2 separate regions of the Homo sapiens genome follow, and region 1 is linked to region 2. Evidence: promoter capture Hi-C in human tissues and cell types (Jung and others, 2019). All regions are on one chromosome and are shown on one strand. Each heading gives the region's core, a stretch centred on a gene start or on the middle of the fragment in contact. The rest is flanking DNA. Distances are from core to core; before and after follow the strand shown.

Evidence for each region. Contacts are between HindIII fragments. The study calls those that stand out against the background at their distance.
Region 1: a contact is called between a fragment that was not itself captured here and the fragment with the promoter of MANF in region 2, in 1 of the 25 tissues and cell types used here (dorsolateral prefrontal cortex).

The regions. Positions count from the first base shown.
Region 1 is chr3:50,312,090-50,319,455 of GRCh38, reverse strand. HYAL2 (hyaluronidase 2) reads left to right here. Exons shown (of 4, transcript NM_003773.5): 3 at 411-500; 4 at 917-1,648. The coding sequence ends at 1,327. It also overlaps a transcript of HYAL1 not described here. Among named protein-coding and RNA genes, the nearest start is that of HYAL2, 7.0 kb to the left of the region's middle. The HindIII fragment of the contact is 9,182 bases long and covers 1-5,841 here.
Region 2 is chr3:51,382,159-51,388,894 of GRCh38, reverse strand. It overlaps MANF (mesencephalic astrocyte derived neurotrophic factor), which reads right to left and starts at 3,604. Exons shown (of 4, transcript NM_006010.6): 1 at 3,459-3,604; 2 at 2,560-2,687; 3 at 1,017-1,158. The coding sequence starts at 3,552. It overlaps DOCK3 (dedicator of cytokinesis 3), which reads right to left. Exons shown (of 53, transcript NM_004947.5): 53 at 4,697-6,736. RefSeq lists a silencer at 3,409-3,778 and an enhancer at 3,839-4,188. The HindIII fragment of the contact is 5,502 bases long and covers 1-5,304 here.

The DNA.
Region 1 (7,366 bases), core at 1-2,500, 1.1 Mb after region 2:
CCCCTCAAATCATTCTGTCTATAACCTGAAAGGGTGACATCATTATCCCCATTTTTCAGATGAGAACAATTGAGGCACAGCGATGCTGAGAAGTTTGCCCAAAGCTTCCCAGCAAATCCAGAGCAGAGCTGGGACTGGGGCCCAGGCCTTCTAACTTTGGAATCCATCCTGATAGCTGCACCTAGGCTCAAGTGTGCCCTTGGCTTGGGAAACTGAGCCCCAAAAGTGGGGTGGAAATGGACTTAAATGTTTAAAAAGGAAGCAAAACAAATGAGCCTCTGCCTGGACGTGAAATGGGGGTTGAGCTGGGAGTTCAGCAGGTTGAATCAGGCTGGGGTCTGCCCTCCTTGTCTGTTCCTGTCACCCTGTGGTCTCAGTCTTCCCCAGTGACCATCCCTTTTCCTGCATAGATGGACCTCATCTCTACCATTGGCGAGAGTGCGGCCCTGGGCGCAGCTGGTGTCATCCTCTGGGGTGACGCGGGGTACACCACAAGCACGGTAAGCGAGACCCAGCCTGCCAGAGCTCAGTCTATGGGACAGACAGAGAGTTAGGGCCTTTGGCTACCAACCTCAGGTGGGCAATCCTAGTCTGGTCCCCTTGTCTGTCTCCCACCCGAGGCATCCCTGGTGGCAACAGGAGGAGGTCACCCCGGCCCTGCTCTCAGGAAAGAGGAAATGCTGTCCTGAACAGCTGTTGAGTTCCGCCCTTCCCCATCTGCCCAACTGGGTTCCGGTCTGTACCCCCACCCACTTCTCAGCAGGAGCAGGGACTGTGTGGCTCAGGTGCAGATTGAATGTATGAATGTGTGCAGTTAAAATAAGGTATAGTCATCACAGTGTGGACACAGTTTCCATCTGGGCCTGTGGGCTGAGGCAGCTGACCCTGACCTGTGGTCCTTGTCTTCTGCCTCCAGGAGACCTGCCAGTACCTCAAAGATTACCTGACACGGCTGCTGGTCCCCTACGTGGTCAATGTGTCCTGGGCCACCCAATATTGCAGCCGGGCCCAGTGCCATGGCCATGGGCGCTGTGTGCGCCGCAACCCCAGTGCCAGTACCTTCCTGCATCTCAGCACCAACAGTTTCCGCCTAGTGCCTGGCCATGCACCTGGTGAACCCCAGCTGCGACCTGTGGGGGAGCTCAGTTGGGCCGACATTGACCACCTGCAGACACACTTCCGCTGCCAGTGCTACTTGGGCTGGAGTGGTGAGCAATGCCAGTGGGACCATAGGCAGGCAGCTGGAGGTGCCAGCGAGGCCTGGGCTGGGTCCCACCTCACCAGTCTGCTGGCTCTGGCAGCCCTGGCCTTTACCTGGACCTTGTAGGGGTCTCCTGCCTAGCTGCCTAGCAAGCTGGCCTCTACCACAAGGGCTCTCTTAGGCATGTAGGACCCTGCAGGGGGTGGACAAACTGGAGTCTGGAGTGGGCAGAGCCCCCAGGAAGCCCAGGAGGGCATCCATACCAGCTCGCACCCCCCTGTTCTAAGGGGGAGGGGAAGTCCCTGGGAGGCCCCTTCTCTCCCTGCCAGAGGGGAAGGAGGGTACAGCTGGGCTGGGGAGGACCTGACCCTACTCCCTTGCCCTAGATAGTTTATTATTATTATTATTTTGGGGTCTCTTTTGTAAATTAAACATAAAACAATTGCTTCTCTGCTTGGATTTTGTACCTGGGCTAAAGTGTATGCGAGATTCCAGAATTTCCCATGGGGTTTGAGCTCAGCTCTGTCTCTATGAAACCCTCTGCTGGGGACTTCTCGTGTAAGATGTATTCACCAAGACTTGGGGGCCCAGAGCTGCCCACTCTGGAGCTGTTCTGCTGGGGCAGGAGCCACCCCAGTGGGAGTGGAGGGACCCACATTCCATCCCAACACCAAGGACGTTGCTTTCTCCGTATTGGTTGCAAGGGAGTCAGGCCCCGCCTTGTGTGAGGGACAGGGCTCATTGTGTTTCTGCCACTTGCCCCTGTCCTCCCAGCTGGACCAGTGCCAGCCTCCTTGCCAACCCAAGGGAGAAACGTTTGATCTTCCCTGCTGTTCCCACAGGCAAGGGTGTCTCCTCCAGTCCCTGCTCCCAAGGGCAGTGGACACCAGCCACATACACCTCTCATCAGGGTCACAGCCCTCCCTCGGATCTGGTGGTGGGAGGTGGGCAGGGGATTGGGATCTGAATCGTGAGGTTCAGTCCCTGTCCCATTCTAGAGATGCCTGATGGGGCTGGGAGGTGGCATCTTGGGCCTGGGAGCAGGAACATCTTCTAAGGTCTGCTCCGTCCTGGCTGTGGGAGAGTATGGCTAGTCTCTGGCTGTCCCTGAGGAAAGAAGGAGCAGCTGGAGTTGTCAGACCAGCTCTGAGCTGCTTCACTAGCCCTGCCTCTGACGGGAGTGCATTCTGCCTCTCCCCTCAGCCAGCAACCCCACACCTGGGGTCCCGCCCATGTCCGTGATGACTCACCACGCAGCCCTGCTTCAGGAGGCTCTGGCTCTGGGGAGACAGACTCAAGAAGCCGTTGAGTGGTGAGGGCAGCCAGCAGCAGGGGAGCAGGGGTGGTGCCCTTGGAGATGCTTCCCACATTGGGTTCTAAAAGGTGAGGGCGGCAGCTCGATGCTCAGGAACAAATCCTGGGCAGAGGCTGGAGGAAGTTGGAGGTGGTGAAGGTGAACAGTTCAGGGCTGGGGTGTGGCTTAGTGGCTGCTGTGGGCAGAGGCAGGAGGGGCAGCCCTAGAGCAGCACCAGGCCTGACTTCACCTAATACTGACTTACTCATTCAGTAAACGCTGAGCACACAGTGTGCCTGTGCTGGGCTAGGTGCTGGGGATGCATCGATGATGCATCTATGAACCACACCAACAAAGACCCCCGTCCTTGTGGGAGTGACAAAATAGAGGTAGATGCACACTAGATGCAAAGACCGAGATGCCAGATGGGAGAAACAAGCCCGGCCAAGCCAGTGCCAACCCAGGCTGTAAAGATATCCTTCCCTCACCTCTTTCGCCGGTGATGGGTAGAGAATGGAGAGGAGAGAGTGAGGTGGTAACACTGGAAAGGTGACGTGGTAAATTCACACAGTGAAGGAGGAGGTGCACATACAAGTGGAGGGGTCCCAGGTGCTCATGGCCATGGTGGGGGGAGGCCAGGCTGGAGAGAAGATTCAGGTGTTGGTCAATAAAATGATGGGCCGGGTGCGGTGGCTCACCCCTGTAATCCCAGCACTTTGGGAGGCCAAGGCAGGTGGATCACTTGAGGCCAGGAGTTTGAGACCAGCCTGGCCAACATGCTGAAACCCTGTCTCTACTAAAAATACAAAAATTAGCTGGGCATCCGGGCCTGGTGGTTCACGCCTCTAATCCCAGCACTTTGGGAGGCCGAGGCGGACAGATCACAAGGTCAGGAATTAGAGACCAGCCTGACCAACGTGGTGAACCCCATCTCTACTGAAAATAAAAAATTAGCCGGGTATGGTGGTGCCTGCTTGTAATCCCAGCTACTCAGAAGGCTGAGGCAGGAGAATCGCTTGAACCCGGGAGGTGGAGGTTGCAGTGAGCCAAGATCACACCACTGCGCTCCAGCCTGGGCGACAGAGTGAGACTCTGTCTCAAAAAAAAAAAAAAAAATTAGCTGGGTTTGTTGGTGCACACCTGTAGTCCTAGCTGCTTGGGCAGCTGAAACACAAGAATCACTTGACCCCAGGAGGTTGCAGTGAGCGGAGAATGGGCCACTGAACTCCAGCCTGGGTGACAGAGCAAGACTCTGTCTCAAAAAAAAAGTTGCCACAATAAGATGATGGCACTTAGCAAAAGGACAGCAGGAAAGGAGAAAGGAGCTGTGGCCTGTCCCCCATACCTGTGACTTCCTGCACCTGTGACCTCCCCCACACAGATGTGACCCATGCATACCTCTGAGCTACCCCACCCACACCCAACACACAGAGGTGATCCAGACCACACCACTGTGACCTTTCCCACCTAGCTATGACCCCTACATACCTGTAACCCCTCCCATGTGTGACCCCATACAGCTGTTACCGTCTCCAAATAACTGACTCCTCCGCAACTGTGACCTCTCCTGCATAGCTGTGACCAGTACCCATCGAGCTGTGACCCCCTCCATATAAACCTTTATGAACCTCACATTTCTTCCCCCGGAGGACCTAAAAGATGGTCCTAGGGAAAGTGCAACTCAGGGAGAGCCAGCACTGTCCTGTGGGGAAAGCGGGGAGTGGGTAGGAATAAGGTAATGGGGAGTGATGCGGCTCAGAGATCTGAAGTGTTGAACAACCGGAGACAGCAGGCGGGACTGGACCATCAAGCTGATGGACCCCAGACATATGCGCACACACACACCATTTGAGCCAATCCTACTGGACCAGCCCAGTAGGAGCAGGCCTGTGGGCAGGGCCCTGGGGTGGAGGAGGATTTCAGGCACCCTCAGATTCTTCCTATGGTTCCACCATTAGAGCTTCTCCCTTGGACTGAGGCCAGCTGGAGAATGCTGGCCTGGTGGTTACCTGGATTGGGCCAACTGCAGCACTAGGTTTCTGGGGGCACCAGGAGGTGGCATGAATCCTTGAGGAGGGGGGCCAGGGGTTGCCTTGATGTTCTGTTCCCTCAGCCCTCAAGAGTTGTGCCAGGCTCTCTGGGCCTACATGGTCATCACTCTGGGACCCTGCTTCCTGAACTGGATCAGCAGTCACCACTTCTGGGGCTTGATCTTGTGTACAAGTCTCATGCTGTCCCCAGCATCCTGGGCCCTTCTTTCCCTCAGCCCTGCCAGCTTTTCTATCCCAGGCAGCCTGTAGGACCCAACCCAGATGGTAGTTAACTGTGAGTTTCGTTGCTTCAGTGGCCACCGTGCCAGGGGTGGCCTGGCTACAGTGGCTCAGTCTCAGACTTGACTCAGATCCAGGTAGCACTTTCACTTGGGCAGGGACATGGTGTTTCCTTCAACCTACTCTGGCAGGCAAGGCTGGGCCCAAGCACCTAGCAGGTGTCAATAACCAGCTTCTGAATCAGCTGTGAACCCAGAAAATCTGACAAAGGTCTCAGTTAACTTAGAAAGTTTATTTTGCCGAGGTTGAGGACTTGCTGGTGACACAGCCTCAGGAAGTCCTGAGGACATGTGCCCAGGGCGGTTGGGGCACAGCTTGGTTTTATAGATTTTAGGGAGACATGAGACATTAATCAATATGTAAGAAGTACATTAGTTCCAGAAAGAAAGGTGGAGACTGCTCAAATCAAGGCTCCCAGGCTCAAAGCACTGGGGGCTTCCAGGTCACAGATAGGTGAGAGACAGATGGTTGCATTCTTTTGAGTTTCTGGTAAGTCTTTCCAAAGGAGGCAATCAGAATATGCATCTATCTCTGTGAGCAAAAGGATGACTTGAATAGAATGGGAGGCAGATTTGTCCTGAGCAGTTCCCAGCTTGAAGAGGCCCAAGATACTTTCCTTTCACATTTACCCCATTTTCTTTTTCAAAATCTTTTGGAGAAAGCATTTTGCAAGAAAATGAGTATCTGGTCTCAGGTTTCATCTGATCTCTCATTGCTAGATAAGTAGGTCCGGAAAGCTCATTTTTAGCAGGTTGTAAAGTCTCATGCAGTGTGAAGAGAAAATAGGGAGAAGGAAGGAAGAGAAAAAAAAAACAGCAAAAGAACAATCCCAGCCCTGGCGGGGTGGCTCATGCCTGTAATCCCAACAATTTGGGAGGCTGAGGCGGGTGGATCACCTGCGGTTGGGAGTTCGAGAACAGCCTGACCAACATGGAGAAACTCTGTCTCTACTGAAAATACAAAAAACTAGCCAGGCATGGTGGCTCATGCCTGTAATCCCAGCTACTCAGGAGGCTGAGACAGGAGAATCACTTGAACCCAGGAGGCGGAGGTTGCAGCAACCTGACATTGCGCCATTGCACTCCAGCCTGGGCAACAAGAGTGAAACTCCATCTCAAAAAAAAAAAAAAAAAAAATCCTGGGAAAATATAGGCCACATTACTCTGAAGTCCATACATTGGTAGGCAGGTATGAAAGTGGCTTATGTATGTACATAAACAGGTTACTGTTACTTTCTTCTGAAGTGTAAGTTGTCTGACTTTAGTTGACACGCTTTTAAGAAACCACAGCTAGGGCCGGGCGCAGTGACTAACGCCTGTAATCCCAGCACTTCGAGAGGCCGAGGCGGCCGGATCACAAGGTCAGGAGTTCGAGACCAGCCTGGTCAATATGGTGAAACCCTGTCTCTACTAAAAATACAAAAATTAGCCAGGCATGGTAGCAAGCGCCTGTAGTCCCAGCTACTCGGGAGGCTGAGGCAGGAGAATTGCTTGAACCTGGGAGGCATAAGTTGCAGTGAGCTGAGATCGCGCCACTGCACTCCAGCCTGGGTGACAGAGCGAGACTCCATCTCAAAAAAAAAAAAAAAAGAAACCACAGTGGCCGATTGCAGTGGCTCCCCCTCCCCCTCCCCCTCCCCTCCCCCTCCCCCTCCCCCTCTCCCTCCACGGTCTCCCTCTGATGCCGAGCGGAAGCTGGACTGTACTGCTGCCATCTCGGCTCACTGCAACCTCCCTGCCTGATTCTCCTGCCTCAGCCTGCCGAGTGCCTGCGATTGCAGGCACGCGCCGCCACGCCTGACTGGTTTTCGTATTTTTTGGGTGGAGACGGGGTTTCGCTGTGTTGGCCGGGCTGGTCTCCAGCTCCTAACCGTGAGTGATCTGCCAGCCTCGGCCTCCCGAGGTGCTGGGATTGCAGACGGAGTCTCTCAATGGTGCCCAGGCTGGAGTGCAGTGGCGTGATCTCGGCTCGCTACAACATCCACCTCCCAGCAGCCTGCCTTGGCCTCCCAAAGTGCCGAGATTGCAGCCTCTGCCCGGCCGCCACCCCGTCTGGGAAGTGAGGAGCGTCTCTGCCTGGCCGCCCATCGTCTGGGATGTGAGGAGCCCCTCTGCCTGGCTGCCCAGTCTGGAAAGTGAGGAGCGTCTCTGCCCAGCCGCCATCCCATCTAGGAAGTGAGCAGCGCCTCTTCCCGGCCGCCATCCCATCTAGGAAGTGCGGAGCCTCTCTGCCCGGCCACCCATCGTCTGAGATGTGGGGAGCGCCTCTGCCCTGTCGCCCCGTCCGGGATGTGAGGAGCGTCTCTCCCTGGCCGCCCCGTCTGAGAAGTGAGGAGCCCCTCCGCCCAGCAGCCGCCCTGTCTGAGAAGTGAGGAGCCCCTCCGCCCGGCAGCCACCCTGTCTGGGAAGTGAGGAGGGTCTCCGCCCGGCAGCCACCCCGTCCAGGAGGGAGATGGGGGGGTCAACCCCCCGCCTGGCCAGCCGCCCCGTCCTGGAGGGAGGTGGGGGGGTCAGCCCCCCGCCCGGCCAGCCGCCCCGTCCG
Region 2 (6,736 bases), core at 2,355-4,854:
GAGCAGGGAGAGTCACTGACTGGGTGGAGCACCTGCAGTCCCCCAGTAGTCCCAGAGTATGTCACTCCCTGAACGGCCAAACCAGCCCTACTGGTTTCAGAGGAAGAGACATTTCCAGACACATTTACAGGCATGTCAGTGCCTACTGCCCCCACAAGAGGGAACTAGCCTCTTCACCAGGAAGGCTGGCTACATATTATGTCTACTACAGATATGCAGCGTGAACAAGGATAGGGACAGAGGCCACACTGTCCTTATAGGAGAAACATGGTTCCCATCTTCCAAGTGCCTCTGACATAGTCACCACATACTAACAACTCCAGGCTGGTGCCAAAGAGCAGCCCTGCTCAGGCCTTTGAGTTAGGAACTTACTCTCCATGACCACAGTGACCTGGAGCCAACTGGACCTGTACCAGGAAGACGCAAGTAGGTGAACACAGGTCCTTGGCCATTCAAGTTTTTCAGAAGAGGCCCTGACTGTTTCTGAAGACTGGGACTATGTACACCAGAGACCCAGTCAGCAAGAGAGATGCTGTAGTTCCTAACTCTTGGGCTTGCATGCTTGGACATAGTGTTTCTTTTCAGAATAGTAAAAATCACTGGGGCTTCAGAGCTTGCAGCCAGAACCAGCCTGTTAAACCCAAGTCGTACTATGTCCCTTCTCTGCTGAAAAACTCCTAATGCTCCTAACTTCACGCAGATTAAAAGCCCTCACCAGCCTGCAATGCTCTCTGACTTGCCATGCCACTGGACACCTTTATCCTGCCTGTATCCTCTTCCATTAGCTGGCCTCTTGGCTAATCCTCACCTCCTTCAAAGTTTGCTGAAATATCACTTCTTCAATAAGGCCTATTCTGACCTCCACCCACTTCCATGCCAGAGCCCTCCAGCATTTAGCACCATCTGTCATACAATACAACCCACTCATGACTCTAGCTCATCATTTTCCTCTCCCAGATGGGAAACAAACCCAGAAGGTGCACAGCATTCATTAAGAAAGGACTAGGCATACTCACCATACTTAAGCTCACATATCTGGCTGTCCTTCTTCTTAAGCTTCTCACAGATCTTCTCCACAGGGATGTGGTGGGCCAGAGGCTTTGATACCTCATTGATGATTTTGGTGGCTGCATCATCTGTGGCCCCGATATAGTAGCACTGGAGCAATAAAGGACAATGGCCTTCAGGAGGTGCTTGAGAGCCATCTCCTCCAAACATACTGACACCTTGAAACATCATCTCTCTGTAGGGCCTTACTTGTGTTTTGAGATAGGGCTCCCTGTCACCCAGGCTGGAATGCAGTGGCATGATCACGGCTCCCTGCAGCTTCAATCTGTTGGGTGGTGATCCTCCCCTCTCAGCCACCCTAGTAGCTGGGTCTACCGGTGTGGGCCACCACACCCAGCTAACTAAAACAATTTTTTTTTTTTTTTGAGATAAAGTTTTGCTCTGTCACCCAGGCTGGAGTGCAGTGGCGCAATCTTGGCTCGGCTCACTGCAACCTCCGCCTCCCAGGTTCAAGCAATTCTCCCTGCCTCAGCCTCCTGAGCAGCTGGGATTACAGGCGCCTGTCACCATGCCTGGCTAATTTTTGTATTTTTTAGTAGAGATAGAGTTTTGCCATGTTGGCCAGGCTGGTCTTGAACTCCTGACCTCAGGTGATCCACCCACCTCGGTCTCCCAAAGTGCTGAGATTACAGGTGTGAGCCACCACGCCTAGCCTAAAAATTTTTTTGTGCAGACAGGATTTCACCACTTTGCCCAGGCTGATCTCAAACTCCTAAGTTCAAGCAATCCTCCCACCTTGGCCTCCCAAAGTGCTAGGAAGACAGGCATGAGCCACCGCACCTGGCCCACAGCGGCATTTTTCGGTGCCCTGCCTGTACTGGTAGTCAGATTCAGCCAGTGTAAACCCTGGACTCTTAACACATGCTCAGTCCAAGCTGACAGCCACCAAATGAATTTAAGTGTCACCAGGGTTCAAACCTTTAACAGAGAGAAAAGCCAGAGACTGTCAGAGAAATTCAAGTTAGAAAACCCATTGCTTCACTAGGGCTTTTGTCTTGGATTCGGCCCTTGCCTATCCTGTAGGCACCCTGTCACCTTCTCCTGTCCACATACATGCCACACTCTTTCAGGCCTCTGGGCACTCACACTGCTGTTCCCTGTATGGGATGGTCTTACCCCACTTCAATGATAACCCTTCCTCAGAGACTTCTTGGCCACTCTAAATCAGCACCTGCTGGTCCATTTTCTTCATGACACCCAGACATTGCATTATTTGTGTGTCCGACTGTCACTTCTTTCCCCTGATATTCCCAGTGCCTAGCACATAGTAGGTGCTTAATAAAGACTAACAGGATAAAAAAAAATCACAGTTGCAGAACACATGCTGCTTTGGGAAGGACATAGAAGCACTTCAGTCTTCTCACATTAGTTTATGGAGAGAGTAGCTGGCTTCCTGAACAGAGAGGTGGGCAAGGCCTTTTATCAAACGGCTGGTGAAGCCGAGGGTTAACATGAGCCAGGGCCAGTTGGGGAGGATCACCAGCTACTTACCAACCGATTCTCTTTGCCTCTTGCTTCCCGGCAGAACTTTATAAGTTCGTTTTCAATAGTGGCTGGTGAGAATGTGACATCTCTGTCTTTGAGGTCCTGGTAAAATCTTCCCAGATAAGAAATACAAACTGGAAAAGAGAGGGACGGGAGATGCTCAGCAATCACCAAGCTGTTCCAATCCACCAGAAAAGAACTCCGCCAGCAATTTTAATAGGAGACACGGAGATGAATCATTAGAGGTGAGCTTTTCCATCACCGATTTTTCTCAGGTGTCTACAGGTAGACAGAACCCGGTTCCAAGTGGCGGGGGTCCCCTGGTACACCCAGGGCATCAAAGGACCAAGCATCACCCAATGACCTATAAACGACTTCTCCCTGCTCCTTTCATCAAGTTTAAGCCCATGGTGAACACGTGTCCTTGAGACGGGACTCACTGTGACCTCATAAATGGAGAGACTGGAAGGTGAAGAGAAAAATGATCAAAATGCTGCTGCTAATTTCCAAATACAACAGCGGACCCAGAGGTGCAGCTTCGTGATCCCAACAGACAGGGCGCAGCACCCACGGCCAGCCCTGGAGCTCCCGACGCCGAACGGGGAGCGGTAACCTCTAGATGGTGGTGGGGACAATAACTCAGGAGTGATGGAGATTTCAGGACAAGTTTTCAACGGGATCTAGTCTCAACTTTTCTTCGTCGGACCAATGTTTTCTAGGCCCAAGAAAGATTTACTAGGGCGGGCGCCGGAGCCTCCTCATGCAGGCCCCGCGGGGACCTGCTGTCGCCCCCGCCCCCGCCCCCGCCCTCGCCCTCTTGGCCCCGGCCGTCTGGTGATGTTGTGGGGTTCAGCGCCGCCGCCAGAACGGTCACGGAGCGCGGCCCCCGGCCCCCTATCCCGCACCTTCGCAGTCGCCCGGCCGCAGCGCCCGGCTGCCCGGCAGCACGCTCAGAGCCAGCGCCACCGCCAGCCCCTGCGTGGCCCACATCCTCCTCATCCTCCTCATCCTCCTCCTCCTCCTCCTCCTCCGCTGCCGCCGCCGACCGACTGAACCGCACCCGCCGCGCCGCACCGCCTCCAAGTCCCGGCCGCGCGCCGTAGCTCCCCATTGGCGGGGGGCCCCCCGGCGCCCTCCCACATGCCACTTCCCCATTGGTCCAGGAGCCGCGAGCCCAGACGGGCGGCTCCACGCTGCCCTCCCTCATTGGCTGGTGGTGTCTGAGCCCTAGACAGTTGTCGGCCGCTGATTGAACCCGGGCTGGCCGCAGGAAGCGACTACAGCAGCGACGGAAGCGGTGTGGGCCGCCATCTTGGGTAAGGGCAGCGACTGTGGCTGAGGCTGGGTACTGCTAGCTGAATGGGGTTCGGCCACGCCTTACATCTGTTGAGTTGACCCGCGTACCCCTGCCCTGGGCCCCAGGCTCCCTCGAAAACCCCTGCTGATCTCCTCGCCCGGACTCCGACTCGTGGTGCAGGAGTTCTGGGGTCAGCCAAGACAACAGGTTAGGCAGGAAGGGCGGGCGGCCGCAGGCAAGGCTCAAAGAGGTTTCTTTTTTCTTCTTTCATTCGCGTGGGCAACGGATCCAACCTTTGAAAGCCCACCTGCTGATCCTCCACCTGACCGGAGCCCGCCGTGCATAGGCTGATAGGAGACGTGCGGGGTGGACGGACTGCGGGACATCTGAAGGAAGGGCTCAAGGCGCGCCAAGCTCAAAGCTGGGCCGCCACTCTAGACCGTGGAGGGAAGCGCCCGGGCCAGATCATCGGTCGAGGACATGGGGTCGCCTCAGAGTGGGAAGGTGAGGGGCTCGGGAGGTGCCCTTACAAGCTCTGAATCGTGGCTTGGTGGCTGGCCAGCCTCCTCCTGCCTCCCCGGCTAGGCCCTCGGGGTCCCCCGCTGCCGTGGGACCTCCTGAGTGGGGTCCCGGGAATCACCAGAGAAGCACTGGAGGATGTTTCCTTTTCGACTGCCCTCCTTTCAAGTGCCCTCCTGGCTGCCTGCCTTCAAGGCAGGATGCGGGAACCGTTGGCTCTACTCAGTGCAAAAAGGACATGTCTATAGGGCTAAAAAGGGCTTGGAGCCCGGCGACAAGGGTTGGAGAGGGGCACATCCTCTGCTCCCATTCAGTGAATTCAGTGGATCAGTATCACGTATTTATCTTTAATTCACATCACAGCAGTCAAGGAAGTGGGGAAAGGGGGAAAAAAAATCAAGTGGCAGATATTTACATCTAAAATTCACATTACTTGTTGGATTTTGAACATGCTACCACAATATATACAGTAAAATACCTCTTGGGACAATGGTACAAATTTTGTTTCCTTTAACTTTGCTTTTCTGGTACAGGTAAGATCATTTTTAAATCACTTTTTTTCTTTAAACATGAATACACAAAAGAAATGGTTAGAAGTTTCCTTGTTTTAAATAAGCACAGAATGCGGGAGGTTAAAAACACATTTATAGTGCTGAATACCAATTGGACATCACACTCTATACATTTTTTGCTCAAATTCCTGTACAAATACACAGCATTCAAATAGGTATTTACAAATAAGCTTGAAAGAATGAAAATCAGTATTTTACAATCTTTTCAAAGGGTTCTCATCTCTGGCCTCCCATTTCCCCTCAGACTGACTTATTCTCCAACAAAAGGGATTTCAGAATGTGTCCTTTTCATTTAGTTAGGGAAAATGGAGAGGGAAAACAAACGGTTTCACCTTGCATAATGCGAAGCCAAATGAACCCATACTCCCCTCCCTACCTCTTGTGCCACCAAGTGGAGAAGGTAGCTGTTCTTATGTGATGACTGCCTTGTCCAGGGATTGACTTTCAGAAGTGCCTTAAAATCTAAGCCCTCCTACCTATGAATCAAATCCAAAACTAGCCCCTAACCCCTAACCCTCTAACACCTGTGAACACCAGATGGTCCAGAGATTGAAGCTTGCAAATGAATGTAGGCTGAGAAGCAGGCCAGCCCTTTGAGGTGAGGGCTGCTGTAACTGACCCATATCCTCAGCAGCCTTCCGCCCCACTCTGCCTGGAGTGAACCTGGTGGTATCAGAAGGGACCCACACTGGTGATAAACCCCCAGAAAAACCCTGGAGGTAATTTAGACCTCCATCTTTCCCAGTAGGTTATTAGCATTTCTGTTAAACAAGCTGGGGTTTGTTTACAAGAGAAAAACACACTGACCATGGCCTTTACTGTCTGGAAAGAGGGGCAGTGGAGAAGGGACAAGGGGCTTGGGCCCAGGGCCTGGCTGTGGAGGTCATACAGGCCAGCAGAAGAGGAACTGGGGGCAATACGCCTGCCCAACAAGGCAGCCTTGTGACCATCATTAATGTGAACTCGAGCAAATAAAAGAAAAAAAATATTTTGTAGGCTTTTTTTAAAGTAACTTAAAAGCACCCTGGTAAAGTACTACTATACCCACCTGACCCTATCCCCCCAAATAATAAACTGAGAGGAAAATCAGTGCCCTGACTTGAATGAGTTTCCTCTAAAGACACCACTGCTCTGCTTTATAGTTTCCTATAAAGACACCAACAGACTGGGGAGACTGGAGAAACTACCCTCCTGCCAGCCCCGAACCCTGAGTGGTGGTCCCCATGGCCTGGAGTGGGTTGCTGTATGTGGCCACTTGGGAGATGACAATTCTACCTGCATGGCTATCTGCTTCCAAAAGGAGAAGCCCCCTCCCACCCTCTTTACCCAGGAGCCTGCTGAACCTGACCACATGTCCTCAGGGCCTGGAAGCCTGGCTGGGCAGCCAACCCCATGGCTCAGAGGTAGTGCTGAAAATCCCTGATTCAGGAGCTGATGGTAGGCATTCTGGATGCTTCTGAAAGCTTTGAGGATTTCCGGCGCCTGCCACACCCCACACTCTTACACCAGTCTCTCTACCACATAGGAAGGGGACCAGCTCCCCCTAGGAGGAAGGTAGCTAGGATAGCCTCTCTGGCTCCATACCTCCACTCAAACCCCAGAGGGCGGGAGATAACCCTTGCAGATCCAGTCACCACTGGGGCTCCTGTGGGGCATGAGGTGTTTCAAGAATGGAAGGGAGCAAATGGTCAGAAATGATGTGATGGAGAGAAAAATCCAAGGTGGAGTAGGAGACGGCTGGCCCATTGAACCCTGGCAGTGCCCTGGGCATGCAGTTAGGCCAGTCACATGCCTG